Linked DNA regions of Homo sapiens: regions 1 and 2 are each linked to region 3. The links are contacts of gene promoters, found by promoter capture Hi-C in blood cells and fetal thymus (Javierre and others, 2016). All regions are on one chromosome and are shown on one strand. The core of a region is centred on a gene start or on the middle of the fragment in contact, and the rest is flanking DNA. Distances in the headings are between cores, read along the strand shown. Region 1 overlaps MARF1 (meiosis regulator and mRNA stability factor 1). Region 2 overlaps NTAN1 (N-terminal asparagine amidase). Region 3 holds the start of RPS15A (ribosomal protein S15a).

What was found. Contacts are between HindIII fragments. The CHiCAGO score rates a contact against its expected background, and 5 or more counts as called.
Region 1: a contact is called between a fragment that was not itself captured here and the fragment with the promoter of RPS15A in region 3, in 2 of 17 cell types (fetal thymus and activated CD4 T cells). The highest score is 8.6, in fetal thymus.
Region 2: a fragment that was not itself captured here is called in contact with the fragment with the promoter of RPS15A in region 3 in 1 of 17 cell types (neutrophils); the score reaches 8.3 in neutrophils.

The regions. Positions count from the first base shown.
Region 1 is chr16:15,637,901-15,640,600 of GRCh38, forward strand. It overlaps MARF1 (meiosis regulator and mRNA stability factor 1), which reads right to left. Exons shown (of 27, transcript NM_014647.4): 2 at 1,190-1,391. The coding sequence starts at 1,333. Among named protein-coding and RNA genes, the nearest start is that of MARF1, 3.9 kb to the right of the region's middle. The HindIII fragment of the contact is 6,127 bases long and covers 1-2,700 here.
Region 2 is chr16:15,046,527-15,049,415 of GRCh38, forward strand. It overlaps NTAN1 (N-terminal asparagine amidase), which reads right to left. Exons shown (of 10, transcript NM_173474.4): 2 at 1,471-1,573; 3 at 1,329-1,394; 4 at 916-1,024. It also overlaps a transcript of PDXDC1 not described here. Among named protein-coding and RNA genes, the nearest start is that of NTAN1, 8.1 kb to the right of the region's middle. The HindIII fragment of the contact is 4,295 bases long and covers 1-2,889 here.
Region 3 is chr16:18,788,867-18,791,598 of GRCh38, forward strand. RPS15A (ribosomal protein S15a) reads right to left here and starts at 1,468. Exons shown (of 5, transcript NM_001019.5): 1 at 1,378-1,468; 2 at 115-252. The coding sequence starts at 247. RefSeq lists enhancers at 421-1,138, 1,076-1,705. The HindIII fragment of the contact is 4,087 bases long and covers 1-2,732 here.

The DNA.
Region 1 (2,700 bases), core at 179-2,678, 3.2 Mb before region 3:
CTCACGCCTGTAATCCTAGCACTTGGGAGGCCGAGGCGGGTGGATCACCTAAGGTCAGAAGTTCAAGACCAGCCTGGCCAACACGGTGAAACCCCATCTCTACTAAAATACAAAAATTAGCCAGGCATAATGGCGAGTGCCTGTAAACCCAGCTACTAGGGAGGCTGAGACGGGAGAATCCCTTGAACTAGGGACAGTGGTTGCAGTGAACCCGGATCGTGCCACTGCACTCCAGCCTAGGGGGCTGAGCCGAGACTCTGTCTCAAAAAATAAAATCAAATAAAAGTTGTTAATACCCTTATATAAAATTATATTACAGTCTCACTTGAATCCCACATACAATAGAAAATAAGAAATAGAAAGGTGGTAACATGAGTGCATGAAGTCAGGAAATGTCAAAATTGGCTGGACGCGGTGGCTCACGCCTGTAATCCCAGCACTTTGGGAGGCTGAGGCGGGAGGATCACTTGAGGTCAGGAGGTCAAGACCAGCCTGGCCAACATGGCGAAACCTCGTCTCCACTAAAAATACAAAAATTAGCCAGGCATGGCAGCACAGGCCTGTAATCCCAGCTACTGAGGAGGCTGAGGCAGGAGAACTGCTTAAACCTGGGAGGCAGAGGTTGCAATGAGCCGAGATCGCACCACTGCACTCCAGCCTGGGCCACAGAGCAAGACTGCACCTCAAAAAAAAAAAAGAAAATGTCAAAATCACAATGAGTAAGCAAGAAGTTAGAGACATAAATGTATACTGAGAAGTAAATATTCAAGAGAAATCTCGAAATAAAAAACAGGCAGTGGATAAGCTCTTCCCAACCCTTCCTAGATTATAGACTCAAAACTCAAGAGGGCTACAGTAAAATACAACATATTTTGTATTTTCCTCTGATTTTACTCCACAATGTGGATTTTTAATCTTTGTTACCTGTGACTTTAATGAGGAAGAAATCTTTCCCAAATTTTAACATTAAATATTCAAGGCATCTACTGTTACTCAAAGTGAAATAGAAGAGTTAAAAAATTGTGCTGTGCTCTCACATTATAATGTGGTATAAGAGGCAATACAGGCAAGATCTACAGAAAAATGTGGCACAGACTCTAGGATGAGAGACTGTATCCCAGACCAAATGGACCTCTCTCATCTATTTGGATGAGGAATCTGCTACATCCTTAGTCTTGCATATAGTTACCGTTTGGGGACTATGTGGCAGCGTCTGCTCAGGACGAGAAAAGCAATTAGAGAATTTCCAAAGCCATGGCTTAGCATCATTATCTTGTTGAAGCCATCCACGTGTTCTACTGCAGGAGTTCTCAGTTCCGTTTCCTTCCATCATACAGCCATGCAAAGTGATTCAACATCCTTTCATCTTTCTTTTCTTTCATTCTTCCACCCTGTTAAGAATGAGTAAGATTTCAGTGTTATTTCCTTGCATAAGTACAAATTTTACAACATACTAAAATGTGAAACCACAGCTATATTTACAGTCCTATGGCTCTCAACAATTCAAATCTTTGTTTCAAGAGGAAGTCTCGCTCTGTCGCCCAGGCTGGCATGCAGTGGTACGATCTCAGCTCACTGCAACCTCCGTCTCCCGGGTTCAAGCGATTTTTCTGCCTCAGCCTCCAGAGTAGCTGGGACTACAGGAGCCTGTCACTATGCCTGGCTAATTTTTATATTTTTAGTAGAGATGGGGTTTCACCAAGTTGGCCAGGCTGGTCTTGAACTCCTGACCTCAAGTGATCCACCCTCCTCGGCCTCCCAAAGTGCTGGGATTACAGGCATTAGCCACTGCGCCCGGCCAACAATTCAAATCTTAACAAACAAAATAATAATAATAAAATAAAGAAAGAAAAAAACACAAAATATCAGAGCATATTACGGGTTAATAAAATTTGGTAAACTTGGTTGACTGTTTATGCTTAAAATCTAACTGCAACAACCTGATTTCTTAAAAAATCTATAATCTGCCATTCTTCATGTTTCATAGCTCTTCAAATAAAAAATGAACTCTCCATGAGTCTTGTTTCCTTTCCACATGTAACCATGTTTGAGAGAGGTAGCCATATCTTGGAAACTTGCATATTCCAGAGTGAGACTTCACCTCCTCACTTGGCTGGAATCAATTTTTTCTACAGTTTTTCTGAATTCTTTTCGGCTCTCTCTCCCTAAAGATGCTGCTCAGGAAAGTCAAAAGTTAACAGAAGAGAGCATCTAATCTGAGTAAAAGAGCCACCACCACATCCTCATTGACAACTATATGTAAGATTTTAAAATTGACTTAAGAGCAACTTCTTGCACTGGTTTCTTGATCTGAGCATGAAAAGTCCAAACTAAGTGGCCTCTGTGGACTTTGAATTTGATTTGCTACAGAACAAATTGAACCAATTTCTTAGTTTACTAATGATGAAAGTGCAATCTGATATACCACCAAAAATCTAACTGATAGAAAAATCTCAAGTCGCAGATGTGTTATATCTACGCCAGAGCAACAACACTCTTACAGGTCTTAACAATAAATGCAAGCGAGGCACCGTGGCTCAGGCCTGCAATCCCAGCACTTTGGGAGGCCAAGGTGGGTGGATTGCTTGAGCCCAGGAGTTCCCAACCAGCCTGGGCAACATGGCAAAACCCCATGGCTACAAAAAATTAGCTGAGCGTGGTGGTGCATGCCTGTAGCCCCATCTACTCAGGAGGCTATGG
Region 2 (2,889 bases), core at 247-2,746, 3.7 Mb before region 3:
AGGATGAGGTGCTGTGGGGGCACCCAGGCTAGAGGCCGCTTCTTATCCAGCAATCCTTGGGGAAACTACCAATCTGCTGGAATTTAAAACTATACCCCTCAGCTGGGAGGATCACTTGAGCCCAAGAGTTTAAGACCGGCCTGGGCAACTTGGCAAAACCCTGTCTCTACCAAAAAAAAAAAAAAAAAAAAAAAAAAAGCTAGCTGGGTATGGTGGTGTACACCTGTGGTCCCAGCTACTTGGGAGGCTGAGGTCGGAGAATCACCTGAGTCCACAAAGTCAAGGCTGCAGTAAGCTGAGATCACACAACTGTGCTCCAGACAGGGCGACACAGCAAGACCCTATCTCAACAACAAAAAGAGAACAAGAAAAAAAACTACATGCCTCGCCCCCTAGCGGTCCCCACATCTTCCTGGCCTCGTTTTCTCCACAGCCCCGCCTCACCACCCAACACCCCATCTTGTGTACAGTCTCTCGGCTTCGGAATACAAACACCTTGGGCCGGGCTTTCTGTCTACTCTTCACTGCTGTGTCCCTAGAAACTACAAGGTGTAGGTGAGAGGAAGCATTTAACAAGCAACTGCGGGAGGAATGACTGCATGGAGAGCTACCACACCCGGGGGAGAGCAAAACGATGTGAAAATCGCAACCTCGACGTTCCTGAGACGACATCAAGTTCAAAGTCAAGCCTTCCATCTCAAATCCAGCACAGACTCCTTGCCTGTGCCCAGCACCCACTCATTCACTCAACCACTGCTGACGCAGTGCCCACGTCGTGCCAGGTTCTGTTCCAGGGGAACGAGGCAGACACGGCAGTGGTGGCATCCTGTGTTCCCCTAACAGCTTCCACAGCCACGTCCTGTATGCGACGGTTCCAAGATCTCAATTCACCTATGAGAGCAGCGTAGATCTCACCTTCCACATTGAGCGTGGTCAGAAAAGGATTTTATGGAGTTCATGATCAAGGGGACCTCAGCTTTGGTGTCGGTTCCGTCACAATGTGTCAAGCAGGTGGCCCCATTACCTGAAGAACAAGGGTGAAAGGACTCAAGTTATTCCCTGATGCGAGTGCAGTGCGCAGGCCGAGACTCCGCCTGTCCCTCCGGACCGCCTCATCTTTGAATATCCTGTAGGGGAAAAACGGACAGGTCTGTGCTCCCCAGCCAACCCATTCTGACCAGGACACCAGGGAGACACCATGCAGACCAGAAAAAAGGTAAGCGGAGTCCGCTTCCAACAAGACACCAGGAAACTCAACACGAGAAATTCAATGGTCCCAAAGGTTGGGTCAGTTTAAGTAATGGTTTCCTTCACCTCTCTCATCATACCTGTGTGCCTCAGGACCACAATGTGACAAGTAGTGGCATCATCAGAACCCAGAATGGAGATGGAGCCTGTTTAAAAAAGAAATAAAATAAAATATCCAATAGCCTTTTGGGATAACGCCCAATTCACTGCTTCCTAACCTACCATCCTTTGGGGAGGTCACTGCAAGCTCTCTTTGCTGAACATACAGAAGGCCCTGGGGTCCCACTTGTTGAACAGACTGACCTCTGAGAAGTCTGGCTCTTTCCTGTTTAATTAAAAAAAAAATAAAATAGTGATGTAAATTAGTGAGGATGGAAAAACTAAAGATGTGGAGAGAGCCAAAGTGGGCTCTGCGTGGGCAGCACGCTAGTGTGTGGGGAGTGTGTTAGTGGACAGAGAGGCTCAAAGAAAAAGGCAGCAGCCACGGTCATTCAGAACAATGCAGAGAAAACGATGCGGTTCTGCGCGGTGGTTTTTTTAACCTATGAAATCGGATGTCATAGTAACCTATGAAATGAGATGCAAAAATCCTTTATTATAGTTTTTTGTTTGTTTGTTTGTTTTTTAAAGACACAGGGCCTCACTATGTTGCCCAGGCTGGTCTTGAACTCCTGGGCTCAAGCAATCTTCCTGCCTTGGCCTCCCAAAGTGCTGGGATTACAGGCATGACCCACCACACCCAGCTATCACAGTTCTTTACTAAAGAGTGTGAGACTCTTAACAATTTTACCATTGTAAAGAGAATCAGATTACACAGGAATAGTGGATGGATGGCTCTGAAATCACATCCCCTCTTTTTTATTTTTTGAGACAGTCTCTCACTCTGTCACCCAAGCTGGAGTATAGTGGTACAATTTCAACTCACTGCAGCCTCCACCTCCCAGGCTCAAGCGATCCTACCACCTTAGCCTCCCAAATAGCTGGGACTACAGGCTTGCACCACCACACCTGGCTGAGTTTTATACTTTTTGTAGCGACGGGGTCTCCCTATGCTCCCCAGGCTGGTCTCAAACTCCTGGGCTCAAGCAATCCACCCACCCTGGCCTCCTAAAGTGCTGGGAGTACAGGCACACACCACCACACCTGGCTGATTTTTATACTTTTTGTAGAGATGAGGCCTCCCTATGCTGCCCAGGCTGGTCTCAAACTCCTGGGCTCAAGCAATCCACCCACCCTGGCCTCCCAAAGTGCTGGGAGTACAGGCACACACCGCCACACCTGGCTGAGTTTTATACTTTTTGTAGCGACGGGGTCTCCCTATGCTCCCCAGGCTGGTCTCAAACTCCTGGGCTCAAGCAATCCACCCACCCTGGCCTCCCAAAGTGCTGGGAGTACAGGCACACACCGCCACACCTGGCTGATTTTTATACTTTTTGTAGAGATGGGGCCTCCCTATGCTGCCCAGGCTGGTCTCAAACTCTTGGACTCAAGTGATCCACCCACCTTGGCCTCCTACAGTGCTGGGATTACATGCATAAGCCACCATACCTGGCCTCCGCTTTTTTACCTTAGTCCCTAACCTAGTAATTTCACTTCTGGAAATCTGTCCTAAGGAAATAACTCAAAATATGTTCATCCCTG
Region 3 (2,732 bases), core at 218-2,717:
CATTCGTTCTCAGGTATGACAGACATACTTTGGTCCCCCATAATTAATTTCTACAGGACTGATTTCTTAGAGAGTCTCACATGAAAACATAAAACACAGCGGCAGCAGACTTACCATGCTTCATCATCACAGTGAGAAACCGGACGATGACTTTGGAGCACGGCCTAATAAGCACCTGGCGTTTGCCTCTCTTTTCGGCATTGTTGATACTCTTGAGAGCATCTGCCAGGACATTCATGCGCACCATTGTGGCTGTTCAAGGAAGACAAAACAGGAGGTTTTACTGGCATTGCCAACATCAACAGACACCAACCATTACACTGCGGAAGTATCCTTTCCTTTCTGGCCCCACCTTGGCGAAGTTTTCTCAAGTCTAAGCAGGCTGCTTCTCCATTTCCCACCACCCAGGAAAATTCCTATTTACTACGGTTGTTGAAAACAGGTTATCGGGACGTCAGCCTGCACATTTTGAAACTCATTCATTCACTAACCACTCTTCTTCGAATCGTGCCACACACCAACGTCTGGAGATAATAAAATGTGGGACAAAATCCACTTGACACAAGACAACGTGAGAACTGGCAGAAACTGCCAGCTACCGGAAGGAAAACATCGGGTATAGTCGATCAGTGATTCAGAACAGAAGCAGAGTATCATCGGCAACATTTTCCAAATTGCTGAAAATCAGCAGATTCCATACTATTAACATTGTACTTTAAATCAGTTCACTCTCACCTACAATGAACACATCTAACTATTAAACATCCATCTTCGTGCCATTTAAAATTGCGTCCAACAGCAAGAGCCACAGTGGCAAACAGAAACATTTTACATGCTTGTCAGACTGGACTCTCTTCTAATGGGCAAGAACCGCACACTACACTGAAGTTTTGAAAGACCAAAGTGCCAATAGTAAAGAGTAGAACTTAAATTCCTTAAGTTCAAAAGTGTCTAAAGAAAAACTCTGCGGCCCAGAAGATCCAAGTTGGCACCCAGCAAACTGCCAACCCCGGCACGATGCAGCTTTTACCTGCTGGGTGGCCTCAGCCTCCCAAGCTCCCAGCGCGGCCGCAGCAGTGAGAAGCTGCACGGCCCACCAGCCCCGATGTTGCCCGCCGCCCGGGGCCAAGGCGCTGCCTCAGCACTAAAGGGAGATCCAGACGCTGCGGCCCGAACCGGAGCTACCGCCTAGCTGGGCAGTCGAAGGCTCCGGCTCCCGCCCGCGCTGCGGCCTGCACCCCACGGACCGGGATCCCCTGAGTGCACAGTCTGGGGCGCCCAGCCATGGCTCTCCTCTATGCCTGTCCAGGAACCGGCAAGGCCAGGATCCTCGGCCAAGGTGGGGACCAGCCTCCTCGCAGGACACCGAGACCGAACCTTAGATTGCAGGATGGCGCCGATGGCAGACGGATGAAATTGGAGCTCTCAGAGAGTGCTACTCACCGGCGCGGAAAGATGGCGGAAAGAGGACGGGAGGGGAGAGCGCACGGAGTTATGGGAAGCGGGAGAGCTATCGCGAGACTTTCAAAGGCCCGGCAAAAACAAGGACCGCCTAGGAGAAGGACGAGGGTGAGGGAAAGGCGGAGCCTCCTCAGGGGTTGGCAGTTGAGAGTCGATGGAATCGACCTCCCCCGGTGGGGCCTGGGAGAGGCAAGGTGAGCCGTTCGTTGGAGGTTCGTCTACATTTTTTTTTTTTTTTTGAGACAGTTTCGCTCTTGTAGCCCAGACTGGAGTGCAGTGGCGTGATCTCGGCTCACTGCAACCTGCGCCTCCCGGGTTCAAGTGATTCTCCTGCCTCAGCCTCCTGAGTAGCTGGAACTACAGAGATGCGCCACCACGCCCGGCTAATTTTTGTATTTTTAGTAGAGACGAGGTTTCCCCAAGTTGGCGAAGATGTTCTTGATCTCCTGACCTTGCGATCCGCCCGCCTCGGCCTCCGAAAGTGCTGGGATTACAGGCGGGAGCCACCGCGCGGGCCTTAATTTTTATTTTAGTTTACTTTTGATAAGGAGTCTCGCTCTGTCGCCCAGGCTGGAGTCCAGTGGCGCGATCTTGGCGCACTGCAGCCTCCGCCTCCCGGGTTCAAGCGGTTCTCCTGCCCCAGCCTCCAGAGTACCTGGGATTACAGGCGCCCGCCATCACACCCGGCTAATTTTTGTATTTTTAGTAGAGACGGGGTTTCACCATGTTGGCCAGGCTCGTCTCAAACCCCTGACATCAAGTGATCTGCCCACCTCGGCCTCCCAAAGTGTTGGGATTACAGGCGTGAGCCACCACACCCGGCTAAAAATTTTTTTTTAATTAAAAAGTTAAGTTCAGACAAAAGTCACCCAACAGTTGTTTACTGAGCACCCATGTACCAGACGCTAGCAAGGCCCTGGGGTACGAGGTGCCCACACAGGCACCATTTAGCCAGTTCTGTCCCTGCCGGTTCTTCCAGCTTCGTCCTCTCTCACACGTCAATGCCCCTGCTCATTCGTTGCATTTCCTCTTCCCTCTAGCATGGTACCTGGATATTTGCTAAATAAAACTTAAACCTTTTATTTTTGTTCTTTTTTAAAATTTTTCCTAGACAGGGTCCTGCTCTGTTGCCCAGGCTAGAGTGCAGGGGTACACTCAGCTCAATGCAACCTCAAACTCATGGACTCCAGTGAACCTCCTGCCCAGGTCTCCCAAAGTGGTGGGATTACAGGTAGGGTACCTTATAGACATCTAAGGACCACACAGGGTAC